3 separate regions of the Homo sapiens genome follow, and regions 1 and 2 are each linked to region 3. Evidence: promoter capture Hi-C in 16 types of primary human blood cells and fetal thymus (Javierre and others, 2016). All regions are on one chromosome and are shown on one strand. The core of a region is centred on a gene start or on the middle of the fragment in contact, and the rest is flanking DNA. Distances in the headings are between cores, read along the strand shown.

Region 1 (4,438 bases), core at 1,831-4,330, 82 kb before region 3:
TCCTTATACCTTGATTCCATCGTCCCTTTACCAACCAAAGGAATGAAAAAGAACAAAAATGACGGCATCAGATCTTAGATAGGAGTCTCTATCCTTATCAACAAAACTACATATATATGTCTATAAATGGACATATATAAATATATACACACACACATATATGAGATTGCAAATAGCAGAGGCTTAGATTCAGATAATTCCTGCCAATGTCTCATCAGCAGTTCCTTAAATACAGGATCCCTACACTAGAGCCACTGGCCCTACTGATGACCACGTCAGTTAAAAACATAGTCTACAGAAGCCTAGGAGAGATCCTTCAGGGTCTCAGAAGACAGAAACAAGAGCACTTTTCCAATACCACCACTGCTTCAACAAAGCAAAAGTCAATAGAAACTCCCTTTCCTACCTCGAAAGCTCTATTTGGCATCAAATTTCTGGAGCAAGAGCACACTTACACGATAGGACCTGAAGGTTGCCATCTGCTCTACTCTGTACAAATGGGCCATCTCCTGGCAAGACTGTAATGATGCCTGATGTGATGAATAAAACTTAGGCATTGCTCCCAGGCTAAAGTAACAAAAGAGACGCGATGGAGGGGCTCAGACAGAGCTTTACATAAGGTAAAACAGTGGGGCTTCTGTCTCTCAGGTATATAATTTCATACCGATTCTAGGCAAGATATTTCCTCTTATTCCCTAGGATGAGGTTAAAGATATACCAAGGGGCCAGGCACAGTGGCTCACGCCTGTAACCCCAGCACTTTGGGAGGCCGAGGCGGGCAGATTACCTGAGGTCAGGAGTTCAGAAACCCCATCTTTACCAAAAATACAAAAATTAGCAGGGAATGGTGGTGGGCGCCTGTAATCCCAGCTACTTGAGAGGTTGAGGCAGAAGAATAGCTTGAACCCAGGAGGCTGGTCTCATGAGGTTGCAGTGAGCCAAGGCTGTGCCATTGCACTCCAGCCTGGGCAACAAGAGCGAAACTCTGTCTCAAAAAAAAAAAAAAAAGACATACCAGGGAACTATCCACAGGAGAGAAAAGTTTGTACACACAGCAGGGATTTACACACTGTTCTAAGTCATAAGCTCATTTTCCTTTGCCAGCAAAGGTCCCAGGACTATCAACTTGGAACAGAAGTCTTGTTGAGTATGTGCTAATAGTGCATTGGAGCATTTCTTTTAGAAAGCACTCCACTACTCCTAGTTTGCACCTGTTCTCCCTGTGGATATATATGGGCTAGATCACCTTCGCTGGGAGAGAACACAAGTTCCCCCAATGTCTCAAGGAGACTAATAGAGAGCAAACTCAGATTTACCTATGCAGCACTCTCATGTACAATAACCTCTTCTGGCTCCCACTGAACTGAATAGCTTTCAGCTAAACTAGTAATCACATCACACAGAAATGCCAGTTGAAATACAATACTAGTTAGGTAGTTATTATAGTCAATATGCAGGGGACCAAAATAAGATACTTCTAGAGCCAAAAAATATGATTATAAATGGAATAGAAATTTGGGACAGAAATATATAAAACACATTAACAAAAAAGAGAGTGGTATTCATTTTGTATTCACCAAATATTTACTAAATTATCTACTGCATTCTAGGTACCCTACTAGATAATTAAAAATACAGACAGATGCAGTCTAAGCCCTCAGGGAACAGACAATCCAGTAAGGAAGAACAACAATGAACAAGTAAATTACAACTATGATTATGAAAGAAAAACTAGAATGCTTTAAGAGCATGTATCCAGGGAACATAATCTAGTTTTTGTTTCTGTTTTTGGTGGGGGTAGGAGAGCAAAGTATGCTATAAGGCTAAATAAAGGAAAGCTAAAAAAGTAAAAATATGTTACATGCACATTCTTGTGAGAAAATAAATACATAAAAAAGCAAAAATGTCTATGTCTCCAGCACCAGCCAGACATAATTTTTAAATCTAGCTGACCCTCTTGTAAAGTATATCCCTACTGTGAAAAGATACATCAGATCCCAGAAAACTGATTATAATCTGCACTCCATATAATAAACCTTCCTACCTAAAAAGGATGTACTAATTATCTAAGACCAGTATATAATTCACTCTGTAGCTGCAGTTCATATTATATAAATGAATAAATAGACATTCTGGTCTGTAAATCAAGATTTTGTGAGACTGGTTAGTGAGCTAGTCTTTGGGGGACTGAGCATGTCTAGGTGATAAGAATGGGTGCTAAAACTGAGCTTCTGGAAAAATAAGGTTGGACTGTGTTTCATCAATGATCAGTCAGCCAGCCCATCTCTATTACATTTCTCTGCTCTCTATAATTTCAATAAACATGATATCAGGAAGTGCTAGGGAATGGTTTAAAAATTTGCTAAGAAACTAATCTGGGCCAGGCACAGTGGCTCATGTCTGTAATCCCAGCACTTTGGAAGGCTGAGGCAGGCGGATCATGAGGTCAGATCAAGACCATCCTGGCTAACATGGTGAAACCCCGTCTCTACTAAAAATACAAAAATTTAGCCAGGCGTGGTGGCACATGCCTGTAATCCCAGCTACTCAGGAGGCTGAGGCAGGAGAATCGCTGGAACCCAGCAGGCGGAGGTTGCAGTGAGCCGAGATCGCGCCACTGCACTCCAGCCTGGGCAAAAGAGCAAGACTCTGTCTCAAAAAGAAAAAAAAGAAGAAAAGAATCTGAGCACAGTGCAAACTCATAATTAATTGTTAAAGGGATGAATGAACAATAAACTTAAGAGACTTACTGTTCCCTCTAAATCAAGTGCTGAGTTTCAAAGGAGGCGGAGACTAGGGCCAATGAAACAGCCAAGTTTTTCAAAGAAGCACATATGTGTGTGTAAAAACACATATACATACCTGCACTCAAAGCAATACCAGTGCCACGGTGGCAGATGGACATCGCCATGGGAAGAGACCAACTGTAAAGAAACACACAAAGACAATTTTAAAAAGGAAAAGATGACACCATAGTAGAGAGTCTATCTTGGCAAAAATATAAACTAATTCTGAAATAGGCACTTTTTTTTCTTTTTTTTTTTTTGAGACAGAGTCTCGCTCTGTTGCCCAGGCTGGCAATGGCATGATCTCAGCTCACTGCAACCTCCACTTCCCGGGTCCAAGCAATTCTCCTGAATAGGTAATATTTTCTTAAAACAAAACAAAACAAAACAAAAAATCACCAGCTTTTGCATTCCTGTCTTTTCACTTTTTTTTTTACCCCCCCGGAACAGGGTCTTGCTCTGTCACCCAGGCTGGAGTCCCATGCCACAGTCTCAGCTCACTCCAACCTCTGCCTCCCGGGTTCATGAGATTCTCCTGCCTCAGCCTCCTGAGTAGCTGGGATTACAGGTGCCTGCCACCAGGTCCGCCTAATTTTTGTATTTTTAGTAAAGGGGTTTCATCACCTTAGCCAGGCTGGTCTTGATCTGATCTCATGATCCGCCCACCTCGGCCTCCCAAAGTACTGGAATTACAGGTGTGAGCCACTGTGCCCAGCCGTGTTTCCACTTTTTACTTTAAAAATACAAACCTGGGCCAGGCGCGGTGCCTCACGCCTGTAATCCCAGCACTTTGGGAGGCCAAGGCAGGTGGATCACCTGAGGTCAGGAGTTCGCAATCAGCCTGACCAACATGGAGAAACCCCGTCTCTACTGAAAATACAAAATTAGCCGGATGTGGTGGCACATGCCTGTAATCTCAGTTACTCGGGAGGCTGAGGCAGGAAAATTGCTTGAACCCAGGAGGTGGAGGTTGCGGTGAGCCAAGATCGCACCATTGCACTCCAGCTCCAGTCTGGGCAACAAGAGTGAAACTCTGTCTCCAAAAAAAAAAAAAAAAAAAAAAAAAAAACACCTGTATCAGGATTAGGTTACAAAAATAAATTAAAGAATAAAGAAAACTGATTTATGGAGAAGGATCCCTACCTTTACCAGACTGCATCACTGATAGGGCTGAGAAAAAAAAAAATGATTATAACTCAAAACTCCTTTCGCAAGGAGAAACATGGGTCAAAGACACTCATTAAAGTTGGAGCTGGCATGGTGGCTCACACCTGTAATCCTAGTACTTTGGGAGGCCAAGGCGGGGGCCGTTGAGTTCAGGAGTTCAAGGTCAACCTAGGCAACGTAATGAGACCCCATCTTTACGAAAAAAAAAAAAAAAATTAGCTGGGTGTGGTGGCAGAGGCCTGTGGTCCCAGCTACTTGGGAGACTGAAGTGAGAGGGTCGCTTGAGGCCAGGAACTCCAGACTGCAGTGAGCTATGACTGTGCCACTGTACTCCAGCCCGGGTTGGGGAGAGAGAGACAGAGACCATGCCTCTAAATAAATAAATACAGTTGATACAATTAGAAAGTAATCACTATAGGCCGGGCACGGTGGCTCACGCCTGTAATCCCAGCACTTTAAGAGGCTGAGGCGGGTGGATCATGAGG
Region 2 (4,845 bases), core at 1,812-4,311, 100 kb before region 3:
GGAAGATTATGCTTTCAGTCTTGTTTCATAACCATGCATTCCTAAAGGTAAAGAAAGGAAATAATACAGAGGTCTAAGTCAGTTACTGGGAGTGAGAAGCCCTACTGAGGAATCCCTTTTCATTTTTAGGCAAATCCTTGGGGTTCCTTCATGGGCACCTGGCAAATGCCTCTGAAGATACCCCCTGCTCGGGTGACCCTGACCTCCCGTACAACTGCTGGTGCTGCCTCCCTCACCAAATGGATACAGAAAAATCCTGATTTACTCAAGGCCTCCAATGGGCTGTGTCCTGAAATCTTAGGCAAGGTATCTATTCTTCCCATCTAACCCAAAACCCTGTAGTCTCAATTTCTTTTCAACCTCAAAAAATGTCTATTGTTATGCCACCACTATCCCAGCATGGGGGACCTCTAACCAATTTGTCTTATCTTGACTAGTCCTTAATCACCTTCTGAGGCCTGAAGGGATGGGCTAAGGACATCATACCCCCAACAGTAGAAAATGATCTAATCTCAAGGTGGGGGAGGGTGGTTAGAGAAATCAAATTTAACTTTTCTTATTTGAAACTTGATCTACTGCCCATGGTATGGGGAGAAAGGGAGTTAGAATCCTGAGGTGCATTAGGAATGATCCGGGCCTGACCAGAGACATGACTATCTCTCCCACTCTTATCACTGACAGCCCCATGATCCAGACAGTCAGAAGAAACTCAGAAAGAAGTCTATCACAAAGACTGTACAACAAGCACGAAGTCCAACCATAATTCCAAGCTCCCCAGCTGCCAACCTCAATTCCCCAGATGAACTCCAAAGCTCACACCCCTCTGCAGGTCATACTCCAGGTCCCCAAAGACCAGCCAAATCCTAAGAGCCCACCTGGAAGTCCACGTATGCTAGAACTCTGGGCAGGGCCTAATCTAGCTGAGGTCCAGAAATACAAACCTGGAACTTCATATGGACCAAGTGGCCACACACTGAAAAACCCGTATAGCGACTCAGTGAAATAAACAAGAGCCCCCAGTCAGAACTGTGAAACAGGGAAATTTTGGGGTGGGAGTAAAAGCAAATTTGGAAAATAAACTTTTTTTTGTTGAATCTTTTACTGATCTGGATTTTCCATTCTTGCTATGGCTGCCTCTTGTAACACAATTAGGAGAAGGAAGGTAGGAGAAAATAAAGTAGGGAAAAGAACATACAGTGGTTTGGGTGGAACACATTTTTACAAGAATTGAGTCAGTTATACTCCAGAAATGACCAAGAGAAAGTTGGTCTGAATCATGGAAAAAGGGCAGAACCTCAAAGAACCAGTCCCTCAACCCTACCCACTCATTTTTTATCCTGAGCATGGACAACTAACAACTACAAAATCAGAAATAGAATTGAGTAGAGTATGTATATGTGTGTTTGGAGAAGGTGGGGAAGAAAAGGTAGGGAAAACCAAAGTAGAAGATACTATGCTTGTGTAAGACTTTCTATCTAAGCCCAAGTACAAATATAGTTTGAAAATTGAAGATATTAAAGTGATTGGAAGACAGAGAAGAAAAAGACAGTAAGTAGAAATTTAAGGCAGAATAACAAACATGATGCTCTGTCACACCCCCCACCCACCCACTACCATGCTTCAATCACCCAAATGGTACGAAACCACCAAAAAATTCAACTGCCCTACCCATTTTCCAGCCTCTAACAGCTGTTTATCATTGACCCCATTTTATATTTTCCTGGCACTGGCTGTTAAATTTAATGCCCTTGCCAAACCTTTCCCAGTCCCAATGACAAAGTGTTCTGTCATGATCACTTGTCCCTCATTCCAAGGACAAAGTAGAGAACAGCTGGTTTAAAATGGAGGAAAGGTACAAGGACTTCCCAGGGCCCCTCTAGTAAAAAGGGAAAACCAATCATTACTTAAAGCCAAATACTATTTGGGACCCTGAATGAAGACTGTTAAAACAGCGGGTCCCCACCTTAACTAAGGTCTTCCTATCCAATTGACACCAGCCAGTTAACATTTCCCCTCTTCGACCCACAGCTTTAACTGGCTGGCCAACAACTCGAAGTGACAGATGAGATAAGTCTCTTATTCCAGAGTTCCCAAAAACTATCAAAACAGCATGCCTGCTAAAGCCTGGCCTATATGGATTTTAAAAGCAGCAAGTTTTCTCATTAAATTATACATTTTTGCCAGGTTTTCAACAATCCCTTCTTTTTTAAAAAAAAACTCTATGCTTCATTCACCCCAAGCCTATAACCTCAGGTCATCATCCCCTAGCTGTCACCAACACTGGTCCTCTGTGCCCCTCAATGAATCATAATTTGCTGAACTGTACCATGAAGCTTATAATCAGTCCTTAATGGGATTTTGGTGCCTATAACCCAAAAGCACTCTACATGCGTCACTTCTTTTCTTTTTCTCCTTCCTTCTCTGAGGCTTTTCTGTGATATTTAAATCTCTGGCTAAGTTCTATCTGATTCCCTGAAAACTTTTCCAATGATGAGATGTAGGAGAACTGTTTCCCTCCTGGTAAAGGTCAGATTGCGGGGAGAGGGAGGATGTAAATGCCTGAGACCCGAGGGAAGAGGAGGAAATTGGTTCCTTCCCAACAGCCATTTTCTTGGTTTCTCTAGATTTCAAGGAGAGTCAAAGATAAAATGAGTATTTAATTCAGTTTCAGAAAAAAAGGGTACATTACTTCGATGAGAAAGCATAAAATTAAGAGGCTTTTCTGGAAATCCAAGAAAAAGAAATAACCATTAATATGTTCAATGATAATTTTCTAGATCTTCCTCGTGTCCAAAGCTATATATTTTCTCCTCAAAAGCAGCTGCTCCAAGAACTAACTAGCCCTCTTTATCTCCCTCTAGCTGGGACAGACTAATTCCCCTCCACCCCCACCTCTCTTCTTTCAATAACACTGTGTAGGTGTTAATGGCCTGGGCTCTCACCAATGAAGAGAATTGTCCTTTAAGCCAGCAACCCACAGGCAGTGGCACCCAAAGCCTCACCAACCCACCCCCCAACCCGGCCCATCCCCAGGGCAGAAGCCACAGAGCTGGCATTGTTTCCACTGTCTCAGGAAGAAGGAGCCAAAAGCTGACCCTCAGCACAAATCAAAGCCCAATATGGAGAGAGAATAACTGCTTCTAGGCCGAGAGTAGGCAAGCTGTGGGCAAAAAAGGGGAGTTTTTGCAGCCACCTCATCTTTAGAAACAAGGGGAAAACTAGACCCTTTTCCACTATTATGGTCTACCAGGTACTCTACTGCTCCAAGGAGATCTGAAAATACAAAAGGATCTAAACAAATAAGGAGAACTTTTCCCAGGCTGGAGATAAGAATGACAAACAGAAAGATGGGTGAATGTAATAATGTGTAGGAAGATGATGCTGGGAGCCTCCTTTCTTCACATGGCTGCCAGCCCCATAGAGGACAACACAGTAAGAACCAGGACAACCACTCCAGACTGGTATAGCTGGGGAATCTTCAGGCCTTTTCCTAGGTCCCACATCTGTGGACAAAGCAAAAAAAAAAAAAAGGAATTTCAGTAAATAGGACATTAACAGTTCCTGTCTCAGAAAGTAATTCTACCTAAAGGAATAGATATCTCCTCTCAGCATGATTCTAGAGAAAAGCGCTTCTACCCTTATGCCCCACCTTTACCCTTCTCAAAACCCACAGTATGGAACCTATTATCCACTTATTCCAATGACAGAAAATCAGGTTCTATTGTGTGGTGATGGTAGGAGGAATGTTCTCTAGAATGCCACAGGCCCCATACGGTATACAAAAGCTTCCAGAATGAATAGATACAACTTTTCCTCAGGACCACACATCTAGATTAATGTTTCTCAAGGTGTATTCTTCCAAACACTTGCTCTCAGAATGTTGAAAGCCATTGTATGGGCCAAAAAAAAAAAAGTTCTGTGGTCATACAAAGTTCATAAACATTTAACTGCAAGACTTTCTAAACAGTTTTTTTTTTTTTTTTTTTTTTGAGACGGACTCTCACTCTGTCGCCCAGGCTGGAGTGCAGTGGCATGATCTCAGCTCACTGCAAGCTCCACCTCCCAGGTTCATGCCATTCTCTTGCCTCAGCCTCCCAAGTAGCTGGGACTAGAGGCACACGCCACCACGCCTGGCTAATTTTGTTTTTGTATTTTTAGTAGAGATGGGGTTTCATCGAGTTAGCCAGGATGGTCTTGATCTCCTGATCTCGTGATCTGCCCGCCTTGTCCTCCCAGAATGCTGGGATTACAGGCGTGAGCCACTGCGCCCAGCCTCTTACAGTTTACTAATGCACACTGTGAATCTCCAAAAGAGAGATATAATATGCCTGATTTCCTAGATACAGTCAATCTCAGAATCTTTTTATAGAGGGAAACTCTATTTATCAGAGGACTAGTATTCTAAAGGATACTCTGAGATCTAGAACACTATTTCTCAATTTTGTTTTGACTGTGACTCCACTAAGAAATACCTTTAAAACTGGAACCCAATAGATATGTATATATAATATAGCAAAAGTTGATAAAACAATATTTACCATTACTAAGTGGTGCCATATATATACAAGTATATATTTATATATTTTATATATAAATAAACTTCATTAAAAAACATATATTTTCTCCTTTTTGTGGAGAACGGGGTCTCATTATATTGTTCAGGCAGGTCTTGAACTCCTGGACTCAAGCTATCCTCCTGCCTCTGCTTCCCTAAAAGCTGGCATTACGGGCGTGAACTTCTGCACCCAGCCACTCCAGTGGCGCCATCTTGGCTCACAGCAACGTCAGCCTCCCAGGTTCAAGCGATTCTCTTGCCTCAGCCCTGCCAGTGGCTGGGACTACAGG
Region 3 (3,889 bases), core at 833-3,332:
CTGGGCAGACTTGGGTACACTGATAGTCTCCATCCGTGGATCCTTCTCTCATCATTCTACTGAGCCCCTGATGAAGGCTAACCAAATTCAGCTGCTGAGTCAGGAGGGAGCGGACTTGGCTTTCTCCTCAAACACCGAATTGTTTCCTTTGCTACAAAACAGGCTTCTCATTCCACCAAATACCACTCTAAATGCCAGCCCCTGTAGTGTGTCCTACAAAGGGGCTGTGCACTTACCCCAGAAAACACAGGCTAACTGCAAATCCTCACGTTGGCATAGCCTTCAGATCACAAACTCCCAGGGGATGGCTTGGATTACAACTTTCAGATTTAGAAATGCTCGGGGTGGGAGGAGTAGTATGAACCCTAGACCTCAGTGAAAAGGGGCAAAGAAAACCTCTCTTCCCACATTAGAGGTGAAAGAGGAGGTTGATGCGTTTTTTTCTTTTCTTTCTGAAAGATTGCCATCATCAGAGTCACAACCAGCTGAGGGACTGGAAACCACTTTGGTTCATCTGCAGCCCCCAGACTAGCCGAATTTTCCAGGATAAAATTAGTGAACACGGCAACCAAGACAACACAGCAGTTGGCACTAATTAGCTCCCTGGGTGACAACTTTTGGTAGGAGTCATAGAGATCTTCATTTTTAGTATCTAAACTGGAACCCAGGCTCCAGGGTCCTATTCCTTCAGTAATCTAATGTCTTTGGGAATTCTTCTGTTAAATTTCTGTAATACTCTAATGGGAGAGGAAGAAAAAAGAAACAGAAAGATAATAGCTAATATAGATTGAGTGCCAGGTCCTGTTTCAAGTATTTGGCATATATTATCTCATTTAATTATTACAACAACCAGTATTATCCCCATTTTACAGACAAAAAATGAAACAAAGGTTTTGTACTTTGCCTAAGGCTACATCACAGGTAAGTAGCTGGCCTACATACATATCTGACATATAGCAGAGGAGTTGGATTTAACACAACGATGTGGGTACTAGGAAAGAGGTTGCAGAGGGCAAGCTTGTGATGCCACTAACCAGACTGACTTCACTTGGAAAGGCTGATCCTTGTTTCTGGAGATGAGACTGTGCCTACAAATAGACAATAGGAGACGTCTTTCCAAAGTCTCTGCTTTGACCCCCCACTCCCCCACCCCATGAACAGTGTTCTTTGAAAACAGTAAATCAGTTAATGGCCTGGGTCTGGCCACGGTGAACACCACAGAGCCTGCCGGAAGACCTAGTTTGTAACAAGCACTGCAGAGGGAGGTCTATTCTTGAAGGGGAAATCTCCCCAGCAACTGGCAGGGGCTTCTAAATACCGGAACACGTCCCTCCAACGTTCCTGACTGAATGAGTGGAGGGCAGGATGCCACCTTTCTAAAAGGGGCACAGTGGCCCTCCCCGGGGGCCAGGGATGGAGTTCTTGTTAGATGCTACAGAAGGAATGTGAGTGCCTTACATCCCTAGGAGAGAGAGGACAGAAGCGAAGTGAGGGGGGTAAGGGGAGCCAGAATAATCTCGGGCAGTAAGACAGATGCAGGGGGCAGTATCCAGAGGGGATGACCTACCACCTGAGAGCTCAGCATCCCCGCTTCCGGACTCTACAGCCGATTCCAATTACCCCCAAAAGCGCCGTCCACAGTAGGGAGACTGAAAGCACCCCGTCTTCCAATCGTTTCCCAGCGCCCCGAGGTGGGAGCTTTCCTAGGAGGGCAGTGGGGCGCCCCTGGAGGGTTCTTCGCGGCTCCGGTCTGCCTCGCTCTCCCTCGCCTCCCTGGGATCCCGAGCCGCAGCACCCTCCCCGCCGCAGCCCTGCCGACAGCGCCGGGGGCCGCACCGCTCACCTCGCTCATCTCCGCAGCCGGACAGGGCGCGCGAGGCGCTGCACGCACAGGTGAGGCGAGTGGCCCTCGGGGCTCCGCGGGCGACAGCTGAAAGTTGCCGGGCTCTGCGGCAGGGGTTACAGCTGACCAGGAGAGGAGAGTTAGTGCGGAGAGCCGCTGCTCTGGTGCTGGCACCCGGGATTCTCGGAGCCCAGCTCCGGCCAGGCGACCCCCTGCGACCCGTCCTGTCAGAGCCGCTCAGCTCGCCGCCTCCGGCCCCACCTTTTATACTCAGCTCGGTACCCGCCTCCAGCCCGACCAATAGAAGCTCCTCCTACCGTAGAATGACAGCCTCTTGCATCCAATGCTGGCAGGTTTAGAGGTCTGCTGCATTTCCAAACTAGGGTAAGACAGAGAGCGGGAAGGAGGGGGAGACCATCGGGGGATGCGGGGACGGAAAATGAAGTAGGGGGAGCAAAGAAAGAGAGGGAGAAAGGAGATGTACACGAAGAAGGCAAGGTGGGGAGTGGAATGGAAGGAGTGTGTGAGTCTGAGAAAGAGAAGGCCTGGAAAGAAATCAAGAGGGTACACGGAAAACAGGAAACAGTGAATGAAAGGGGTAAAGCCAAGAGATGTTGCAGATTAAGATTTCCTAGTAGAATAGCACCCTGGAGGTCGGGCGCGGTGGCTCAAGCCTGTAATTCCAGCACTTTGGGAGGCCGAGGCGGGCAGATCACAAGGTCAGGAGATCGAGACCATCCTGGCTAACACGGTGAAACCCAGTCTCTACTAAAAATACAAAAAATTAGCCAAGCGTGGTGGCAGGCGACTGTAATCCCAGCTACTCGGGAGATTGAGGCAGGAGAATGGCGTGAACCCGGGAGGTGGAGCTTGCAGTGAGCCGAGATCGCGCCACTGCACTCCAGCCTGGGTGACAGAGAAAGACTCCGTCTCAAAAAAAAAAAAAAAAAAAAGAACAGAACCCTGGACCAGAGAATAGCACAAGAGAGGGAGGAAGGCTGGGGGAAGAGAGAGAGAGACAGAATGAGAGAGAGACTGGAGCAAATGGACAGCTTTCTTTGGCAAAGAACAGGGAAATTGTGAAGTGCCTGTTTGATGTGGAAGATCATAGATCTCAGGAGTTGGAAGACATTTTAGGATTCATCAAATCCTACTGTGTCTGGAGTTGGTTCCTTCTGGTGGGTTCTTGGTCTCGCTGACTTCCAGAATGAAGCTGGGAATTTTTGCAGTGAGTGTTACAGCTCTTAAAGGTGGCACGGACACAAAGAGTGAGTCAGTGAGCGAGTGAGCAGCAGCAAGATGTATTGTGAAGAGCGAAAGAACAAAGCTTCCACAGCATGGAAGGGGACCCGAGCACGTTGCTGCTGCTGGCTGGGGTGGCCAGCTTTTATTTCCTGGGGTCACCGCCCATGTCCTGCTGTTTGGTCCATTTTACAGAGTGCTGATTGGTTCATTTTACAAACCTCTAGCTAGCTACAGAGTGCTGATTGGTGCGTTTTACAATCCTAGCTACAGAGTGCTAATTGGCACATTTTACAATCCTCTTGTAAGACAGAAAAGTTCTCCAAGTCCCCACCTGACCCAGAAGTCCAGCTGGCTTCACCTCTCAATCTCCCCTCTAAACAGGACACCCCAGCTGCTGTTGGAAATTGGGCGATGACCACTCTAGCTACTTCCTGCTGGATGGGGGCGAAGGGGCCCTGCAGTGGTAGTATCCTCCAGAGGGAAACTCTCTAGGCCAGCCAAAGGGTCAGTGGGTTGGTCCAGGGGTCCTCGGTAGAAGTTGTTAGTTGAGCTCGTTTGGGGTTCCATTTGTAAGACCATCTGTAGCTTGATGGCATTGATCCTGGAGGAAACAAATTTGACAAAGAGGTTAAAAATACAAGGCCCAAAGGCGAGTAATAGCAAGATGGCTGTCACAGGACCTAGAAAGGGGAGAAGCCATGTCGCCTAACTCTGAAGGTTGGTCTAAGGGTTTGAAAGGCTTTGTCTGATTTCAGAAGCCTCTTCCCATAAACACCGGGCGGAGTCTCGTACTATCCCTGA

What was found. Contacts are between HindIII fragments. The CHiCAGO score rates a contact against its expected background, and 5 or more counts as called.
Region 1: a contact is called between a fragment that was not itself captured here and the fragment with the promoter of PCP4L1 in region 3, in 5 of 17 cell types (M1 macrophages, M2 macrophages, erythroblasts and 2 more). The highest score is 6.9, in M1 macrophages.
Region 2: a contact is called between a fragment that was not itself captured here and the fragment with the promoter of PCP4L1 in region 3, in 6 of 17 cell types (M0 macrophages, megakaryocytes, M1 macrophages and 3 more). The highest score is 6.8, in M0 macrophages.

Annotation. Positions count from the first base shown.
Region 1 is chr1:161,339,080-161,343,517 of GRCh38, reverse strand. SDHC (succinate dehydrogenase complex subunit C) reads right to left here. Exons shown (of 6, transcript NM_003001.5): 4 at 2,863-2,924. Among named protein-coding and RNA genes, the nearest start is that of CFAP126, 27 kb to the left of the region's middle. The HindIII fragment of the contact is 9,839 bases long and covers 1-4,438 here.
Region 2 is chr1:161,360,987-161,365,831 of GRCh38, reverse strand. It overlaps SDHC (succinate dehydrogenase complex subunit C), which reads right to left. Exons shown (of 6, transcript NM_003001.5): 6 at 2,626-3,503. The coding sequence ends at 3,399. CFAP126 (cilia and flagella associated protein 126) reads left to right here. Exons shown (of 5, transcript NM_001013625.4): 4 at 130-306; 5 at 682-1,099. The coding sequence ends at 867. Among named protein-coding and RNA genes, the nearest start is that of CFAP126, 4.5 kb to the left of the region's middle. RefSeq lists an enhancer at 151-653. The HindIII fragment of the contact is 1,452 bases long and covers 2,336-3,787 here.
Region 3 is chr1:161,256,938-161,260,826 of GRCh38, reverse strand. It overlaps PCP4L1 (Purkinje cell protein 4 like 1), which reads right to left and starts at 2,082. Exons shown (of 3, transcript NM_001102566.2): 1 at 1,844-2,082. The coding sequence starts at 1,852. RefSeq lists an enhancer at 1,214-1,714. The HindIII fragment of the contact is 2,153 bases long and covers 1,020-3,172 here.